3 separate regions of the Homo sapiens genome follow, and regions 2 and 3 are each linked to region 1. Evidence: promoter capture Hi-C in 16 types of primary human blood cells and fetal thymus (Javierre and others, 2016). All regions are on one chromosome and are shown on one strand. The core of a region is centred on a gene start or on the middle of the fragment in contact, and the rest is flanking DNA. Distances in the headings are between cores, read along the strand shown.

The links. The method cuts DNA at HindIII sites, captures the fragments that hold promoters and counts their contacts. A CHiCAGO score of 5 or more calls a contact.
Region 2: a contact is called between a fragment that was not itself captured here and the fragment with the promoter of SYNE3-AS1 in region 1, in 3 of 17 cell types (M0 macrophages, monocytes and total B cells). The highest score is 5.7, in M0 macrophages.
Region 3: a fragment that was not itself captured here is called in contact with the fragment with the promoter of SYNE3-AS1 in region 1 in 1 of 17 cell types (M0 macrophages); the score reaches 5.2 in M0 macrophages.

Annotation. Positions count from the first base shown.
Region 1 is chr14:95,514,670-95,517,369 of GRCh38, forward strand. It overlaps SYNE3-AS1 (SYNE3 antisense RNA 1), which reads left to right and starts at 1,451. Exons shown (of 2, transcript NR_188030.1): 1 at 1,451-1,551; 2 at 2,335-2,700. SYNE3 (spectrin repeat containing nuclear envelope family member 3) reads right to left here and starts at 1,981. Exons shown (of 18, transcript NM_152592.6): 1 at 1,927-1,981. RefSeq lists silencers at 1,383-1,677, 1,427-2,236. The HindIII fragment of the contact is 27,487 bases long and covers 1-2,700 here.
Region 2 is chr14:95,137,902-95,140,601 of GRCh38, forward strand. The region is part of intron 1 of DICER1 (dicer 1, ribonuclease III); the gene reads right to left. It overlaps MIR3173 (microRNA 3173), which reads right to left and starts at 85; the gene lies at 18-85. The HindIII fragment of the contact is 3,001 bases long and covers 1-2,700 here.
Region 3 is chr14:95,121,177-95,123,876 of GRCh38, forward strand. All of the region lies in intron 8 of DICER1 (dicer 1, ribonuclease III), which reads right to left. Among named protein-coding and RNA genes, the nearest start is that of MIR3173, 15 kb to the right of the region's middle. The HindIII fragment of the contact is 962 bases long and covers 870-1,831 here.

The DNA of each region.
Region 1 (2,700 bases), core at 201-2,700:
CTTTCCCAAGGCTACACAGCCAGGAACGGGCTAAGGCAGGACTGGACTCAGGCAATCCAACTTGACTGCCCCATTCCTAACAGCTGGACAATGCGGGAAGCCTAGCTGCCCAGTGGGTTCCCAAAGGCTCCAGGGTGCTTTTGACGTTGAGCTGGGCCTGCCCAGTCTTGCCTCCCGGGGCCGCCAAGCCAGGGCCCCCCGGCAGCCCGCTCCAGGCTGCATCACAAGGCAAAGGGGCTGCCCAGGCATGGCCAGGTCCATGGCTGCTGGAGAGCATGCAAAGCACCCGAGCAGGAGCCTTGTTCCCATGGAGACAGACAGAAAGGACTCCAACTCACTCTGAAGTGTACCTGCAGGGAGCCAGGTGCCAGACTGTACCTGGAGGCAGAAACCTGAGCCTGGATTCTCACCACTTCCCTCTGTGCCACCAACACATCCTCAGGCCTTCTTCTCAGGACCCCCAGCAAGACACGAGTTCCAGAAATAAGACATCCCAGCCCACTTCCCGCTCAGCCACCCCCAGAGGGGCCTCTCTGGTTGAAAACAACGCCTGGGGCCAGCAGGCTTGGCACAGCTGTGGCTGTCAGCCTGCCGAGCACCGTCCGGCCTGAGGAATGTGCAGACCCACATGTGCTGGAGCATCCCGCTGGGGCACAGTGACAGGAAACTGAGCAAAACAGCTCGTTGGCACTGATATGCCCCTCCCACCTCCCAGCTCCTGACTCCTATGGGCTGTTGGCTGCCCTGGAAGTGCAGGCGGCAAGCCCAGGCCCTTCAAGAGAGCCAGGCAGTGTGGCTCTGGGCAAATCACTCCCCCTCTCTGGGCCTGTTTCTGCTTCTCTTGGTGGATGAAGGACGCTGTCCTGCCAAGCTCAGAATGGCAGTGATTTTATGACATGCTCTCCTTTCTGGGAGGACGGTCCATTCTCCTCATGCCCTCATTCATGTGGGATGGGGCATGCCCCCAAGACACATCAAGCTATCCCACTAGCAGCCCTTGGCTGTAGAAAGCCCCCCCACCCAGTGCAGGGATAAGGGTGACCCTTCAGAGTTGAAAGGGGTGACCAGGAACCTGGGAGAGTCCCAGGAAAGCCCAGGGTTGGAGCTTCAGGGCCAAAGTGGTTAACTGAAAATATTCATTATCACCCCGCCCAGGCTGGAGGCCCCTGGCTTCCAGTTTTGAAGCAGAGGTCAGCTGGGCGGTGTAGGACACTGCTCCCGGGTTGACCAATGGGCCACATCAATGGGTCTGCTGTTTGGGGTCAAGATCCCAAGACCCCAGGGGAAGTCAACATCCATCTGAGGCTCTCTCAGGCCCTGCAAGCCATCTCTGGCCTCACTGCCCTCCCCTTTAGAAATGTGGGAATGAGGCTCAGAGAGGTTGAGCTGCTTGCCAAGTTTGCATAGCCAAAAGGCGTCTGAACGAAACTGAGCATTCGGGGTTGGACTTCCCCTCTTCGCCGCCTGCTCTGCTCTCCCAGGCACTACTGAGCGCGCTCGCGGTCGCCAGGAGCGGATTGGGCCCCCGCCGCGCGCAAGCCTTGGTGACAGGTCAGCCCGCCCCTAGGGGAGGCAGAGGGAAGCCCCGAGGAGGCACCCGGCCCGCTGGGGCGCGCTGCCCGGGGCTTTAGGGCTTTTTCTTGTGGGCCGGCCGAAGCTCCCCGGGGTTGAAAGGAAAGGCTCGGGAATTTCGCAGCCAGCACAGAACGGTTGGATTTAAACTAAAAATACCCGCCCGCCCGCAGCTGTCACGCCGGGGCCCCCGCCCCCGCGCCGGGCGCGCCTCCCCAGGTCCCCCAGACTTTCGGCGCCCCCGATTCCCGGGGCTGTGTCAGAGCTGGGCCAGGGGCTGAGGACCCCACCCGCCCGGCCCCCGGCCCCCGGCCCCCGGCCCCAGGCCTGGCCTCCCGGCCCCGTGCCACTTACCCTCCCGGAGCGTGGAGGAGCGCGGCGCCGCGGGTAGCTGGGGCCGAGCCTCCTTCCCTCCTCCCTGCGTCCCGGGCGGCTCCGGGGCGGGGCAGGGCTGGGGCGGGCCCGGACACCGCGAGTACCCCCGCCCCCGCCGGGACCCGCCCGGTGGCCCCGCGGGAGAGGCCGCGCCCCTCTCCGCACGCGCTCAGCGGAGGCCCCGGGTGCGCAACCCCAGCCCGGCGGACATCCTGCGTGGCCCCGGGGACCAGGGCCGAAGAAAAGCCTCACCGCTCCCTGTCGCGGACCCGGGGCGGGGGTTAAGGGGGGGGTCCTGTCCACGCTTGCCTGGAAAGCAGCCCGGAGCCCTGGCCCCTGTCTGTCTCCCCGACACACACACAGCCACCCACCCTCTTCTCATCCTAGGGGATGGCGCGGAGCTGCCTCTCCGGGAAAGTTGGATCTGTGCGCCCAGACATGGAAAAGGGATTAGGACACCGGCAGATCTTGCCCTCACAGAGCGGAGGTGGGGGCCTTGGAAGGGGCACACCGCCCGTAGGCGCGAAATCCAAGAAGAAAATGACACTCATCAGCCAGCCTCGCGCGGGGAGAAAGGGCGGGGTGGGGGGTAGTGGCACCCTGCCCGTCCTCTCCCACCCCCACAGTCCGGGCCCACAGTCCAGGAGTCACAAGGGATGTGAATCCCCAGGCATAATGTGAACCCCCAACAAACCCAAGGCCTCAGAATGCGCCTCACCTCTCCCTCCCCACCAGCAGAAACATCCTCCCACT
Region 2 (2,700 bases), core at 98-2,597, 380 kb before region 1:
GAGGGAGAGAGATCGTTTCCCTGGCCTGCCTATTTCCTCCTTTGTTCTCATAAAATCACAAAGGAGAAAACAGGCAGGGCAGGGAAGCTGGCCCAAGACCAACAAAGACTCAATTCTATCTGGAAAATAAGCCCTAGACCTCCAATGTTTCTCAGGCCCGGTTTCACCTCAAGACACCAACCTCACTCAAGTATGTGGATCCTATTCCTACAAACCAGCAGGTAAAGAGCTTGGAAAAGGAGGAGTTGCAAATTCACTCAGTGTCCAGGTTCTGTTCCTGGCATTTCAAAGGACAGAGATTTTTTTTTTTTCTTAGCAAACACAACATTTCTCATAAATGCCCTACCCCACCCTAAAACTTTCACAGGGTTTAGAAAAAAATGATAGGTAGCTGGTTTCTAAGAATCAATCTGAGAAAAAAAGTGGAAAAAAAAAACAGAGAAATGAAAGGTTACATTTATCAACATTTAGGCTCTAAATAAAGAGAAAATAGATACATTATATAGTAAAAATAAATATCAAACAATAAAGAAATACAGAAATAACATCTCTAACCAAAAATACCTGAAAAGATTAAGGTTTCTATCAGCTCTCACAAAAAACCATGTGTAAGAAAATAATACAAACTACTGGAATGGAATTCATTAAAAAGTTGATATTTAAAAAGGAAATTAAGCAAAGCACTACACTCTGTGATATCTAGTCCCAAATGTACTCTGAAAAGTACTGCCCCCACTCATGACTGCCTGACTTCTGCCGACCTGTAACCTTACGTTCAGATTATTCACCCAGCTTCTCAGTAAACTATCGCAAGAACAAAAAACCAAACACCGCATATTCTCACTCATAGGTGGGAATTGAACAATGAGATCACATGGACACAGGAAGGGGAATATCACACTCTGGGGACTGTGGTGGGGTCGGGGGAGGGGGGAGGGATAGCATTGGGAGATATACCTAATGCTAGATGACACATTAGTGGGTGCAGCGCACCAGCATGGCACATGTATACATATGTAACTAACCTGCACAATGTGCACATGTACCCTAAAACTTAGAGTATAATAAAAAAAATAAAAATAAATAAAAAAATAAAAAAAAAAAAAAAAGAATGCTATCCTATTGCTGCCTCATCACCATTCACCAGCAATTTCCACAACAGAAGAGTAATCCCTGTTGGCTGAAAGCCTATAGCATATTATGCATCCTCCCTGACTGACCAACTGAAAGTGTTTAATCCTGTATTTCAATCCTATGTGCTCAATCCAAGTGATCCTAGCAGTTATACTACAGAGGCTTGGGGTATAGTCTTAATCCATAAAATGTACTTCTGTAATTTTATATGAATTCTTATTTAGAAAATTTCTCTTAAAACTCTGTTCTCACTAAAATATGACCAATTAGACTAGAATTTCCTTGGATATAGGAGCTGCATATCTTACCCTTACCTGTATTACCCACTGTACAGAACCACATCCAGGACATGGTAAACAAAAACTGCAGGTTGTTAGAATGAAAACAATGTCCACCTGAGTGACATTAAAACCTCAAACAGCTTCTATTTGCCTTTCATAATTTCTATCACAGATTTTTAGAGCTATTCATAGACACACATACACAACATACATGTTATTCTTTTACTGGAGCACAGCTCCATAAGAACAAGACATGAGTCTCATTCTTTGCACCTCTTAAATTTCCTGCTACAATGTTCTGTATATACATTTAAGTAAATATTTGACAAACTGAATTAGAGACTCATGAATGTCCACACAATAATATACAGAACAGAATCATGGATGGATCAAGATATATTTCTATTCGGTTTGGAAACACACATCTATCCCACTCCTACCAGCCCTGAGAGATGAGTGCAGGAGAGAGGATGTACAAGGACATAAAGAACAACAATTTAACCCTTCCAATTATATTTTCCATAAGGTTACAATGTTTAAATTAATTTTCATTCATTTAGTGGACAATAACTGGCCCCAGTAATGCACTTTCTATTTAGGGAAAACAAATCCAAGACTTAAAATTCCAACAGGTAATCTGTAATATAAAAACAGGAAAACCTATAATTTTGCCAATTTTTACTTTCTTGGCATGTTTAAACAGATTTTTTAAACTTGGCCTTAATGAAAAGATCTGAATCTCTGCTGGCAGGTAAAGGTTCTAGTTTCACAGATAAACTGGCTACCATTAACTGCTTTTGCAGAGCCAAAATAACTCCACATGACTGTTTTTCAACTATAGATTTTAAATTTCTGGTCAAACAACTTACCCTCATGAAACTAGTGAGGTTGTTTCATAGTTTCCACATATTATGCACTTAGAAATACAGTCATGCACCCAATAACAATGTTTTAGAGACTGACCCCGTATAAGACTATGGTCTCGTAAGATTATGATACTGTATTTTTACTGTACCTTTTCTATGCTTAGGTATATTTAGATATACAAATACCACTGTGTCACAACGGCCTACAGTATTCAATATAGTAACATGGTGTACAGGTTAGTAGCCTAGGAACAAAAGGTCATACCATATAGCCTAGGTGTATAATAGGCTATACCATGTAGGTTTATGTTAATTAAGTACACTCTATGATGTTCACACAATGACAAAATCGCCTAACAATGCATTTCTCAGAAGATATCCAGTCATTAAGCAATGCATGACTGTAATTTAGCAAAAGA
Region 3 (2,700 bases), core at 101-2,600, 390 kb before region 1:
AGACTGTCAAGGTCATCAAAAACAAGACGGAAACTGAAAAACTGTGACAGACCAGAGGAAACTGGGTAGATACTGACAACTAAATGTGATATGACACCTTGGATTAAAGACATTATCCCTTACTGTCTAGTGGTTAGAAAAAAATAAAAATAAATTTTTTGAAAAAGAGGACATTAGTAGAAAAGCTGTCAAAATCCAAATAAAGTCTGGAGTTAATAGTAATGGGCCAATGTTAGTTTTCTTAGTTGTGACAAACACTGACATGAGATAATATCAATGGGGGAAACTAAGTGAGGGGCATATGAGAACTCCGTACCATTTTTCCAACTTTTCTGTAAATCTCAAATTATTCCAAAATAAAAAGTTATTAGGAAAAAAAGGGGGAGGGGTAGAGACAGGATGTGAACCCAGGTTTGTCCAATGCCAGTATCACACAATACTAGTATATTACACGGTGAAAAGAACACTGGACTTGAGACTGGAAGCCATTTTCTGCCACTTGATATGTGTGTAATTTGGGGGAAGGTCACACACTGATGCTTGTTTTCTTCCTCTGTAATATGGAAAGAACATCTACTTTCCTCCCCTATGGAGTGTTGTGAATATGTCTTAAATATATATAACTTAGAAACCCCTATGTAAATATAAGGTACAAAGAAACCCATAAACATAAGACTGTGCACATACCTACACTACATATAGAAGTGGCTGTGATTTATTTTTTTTAATTAGGAGAGTAGAAAACTGCATGTATATTACAATAGCTTATATGCCCATGAAACTATTCACTATAGAAGGGTTTTTCCTCCCATTAAACTGATGGAAGGAAAGAATCTGAATTTCAGGAAGTTTTTCTAAGCTTATTAAAAAGCTTACTGGAACAAGACCTCTATTGTATATTTAATTAGCTGCTCATAAAGTCAACCCTCAGAGCACTCTTGATTCATCATACAGCACTAAATTCCAGTCACATTTTATGAAAGTTGATCACAATTCATCTGATCCTTAAAGTCAATAGGAAGTAACCGACTGATTCTGGATAAACCTTTTCAGGCTAATATTCCTGCAATAAAAACTGGCACATCTTTACCTAAAAATACATGCAGAAAACAGGAGGAAGGCGGAAAATACACCCCCATTTCTTCTCTCCAAGCCCCAGAAAATTTATTTAATCCTTATATAATCCTAAATGGAGACGGGGAGTATGTCCATAACTAGGCTTACAACTGCGCCAGCATTAAACTTTTTTGACTCCCAAAATGCTTTTTCCCTGCCCTAAGAAATAATCCCTCCTTAGTCACGCTCTCCCAGGTCCGTCTCCTGGCAATCTTCCTGCTGTAAAGCACTGGTTTTTAGTGTTCTGTGATGCCCAGGGGCATTACTATGATAGAAAGAACTGGAAACTAGGAGTCAGGATATTAGGATTCTAGAATTGTCTCTGCCATTGACTAGCAATTTAACTTACAGCAAATCACTCTCTCTCCTGAGGCTCTTTCTCATTTTTACAAAAATAAGTGGGTTGGATTAGATAGTCAGTGAGGTCCCCTTCCAATCTTCAACTTCTAATTTAAATGTAATTTGGTCCCTAAAGTTATTTTCCTTTGTATTCATCAGAAGGATCAGGCTCAATGACTATGAAAATTACCAGACTAAAAACTGCCAGATGATGACCCTCGAGTCCAATTTCTCGTTACTCAAAAAAGTTTTTAAAACCCCTAAACATTCAGAAGCAGTTAAGCGCGTGTGCGCGTGCGTGTACGCGCGCGCGCGCGCACACACACACAAAGAAAGAAAAAGAAAAAAAAAAATCCCAAATTACCTTAGGAAGCAAAGCTTAGTTTTTCCTAAGAGATCACTACTTGCAGAAAAGTTAGGGATCAACTGTGGCCAATTAATGGATCTCATAGAAAAGTAAATTGATTTAAGTACAAAATAAGGACCTTTTTTGGCAGAAAAAAATAAGAGTATCTATCTACAAACCAAAAGGACCATACATTAAGTGACCATCTGACAGAAATCTGAAGTATAGCTCCCTGGCTGGTTCTAAATTAGAAAAAAAATCTTTCATTGAAGGGAGAAAGAGTAGGAATCCACGGCCTAAAATTTGGATTCAATATCACCTTTGCTAATAGTCTTAGAACTTTCCCCAACATTCTTATTCTCTTCTGATTCACAAAATTTTAATATGCAGTCTATGAACCAACCCAAAATAAATTCAATTGTTCTAAACTTTTTGCACTGTGGCCTTGAAAACTTTATTTTTGGAGACAAAGTCTGGCTCTACTGCCCAGGCTGGAGTGCAGTGGTGCCATCTCAGCTCACTGCAACCTCTGCCTCCCAGGCTCAACTCATCTTCCCACCACAGCCTCCCAAGTAGCTGGGACTACAGGCATACACCACCACCGGCTAATTTTTGTATTTTTTCTAGAGACAGGGTTTCGTTGTGTTGCCCCTTGTGAACTCAAACAATCTACCTGCCTCTGGCTCCCAAAGTGCTGGAATTACAGGCACAACCCATCATGCCCAACCTAGCCTTGAAAAGTTGAATCCATATTTTTAAGAGAAAAAAATCAACATTAAAAAATTAGTCACAATACCCAGATAAAATTTCTCCTAAGACTACCTGAGGGGAACACTTGGTGTGAAATGCTTAACACAATGTCTAACACATAGTTAAGGATTAATAAATATCTGAATTGA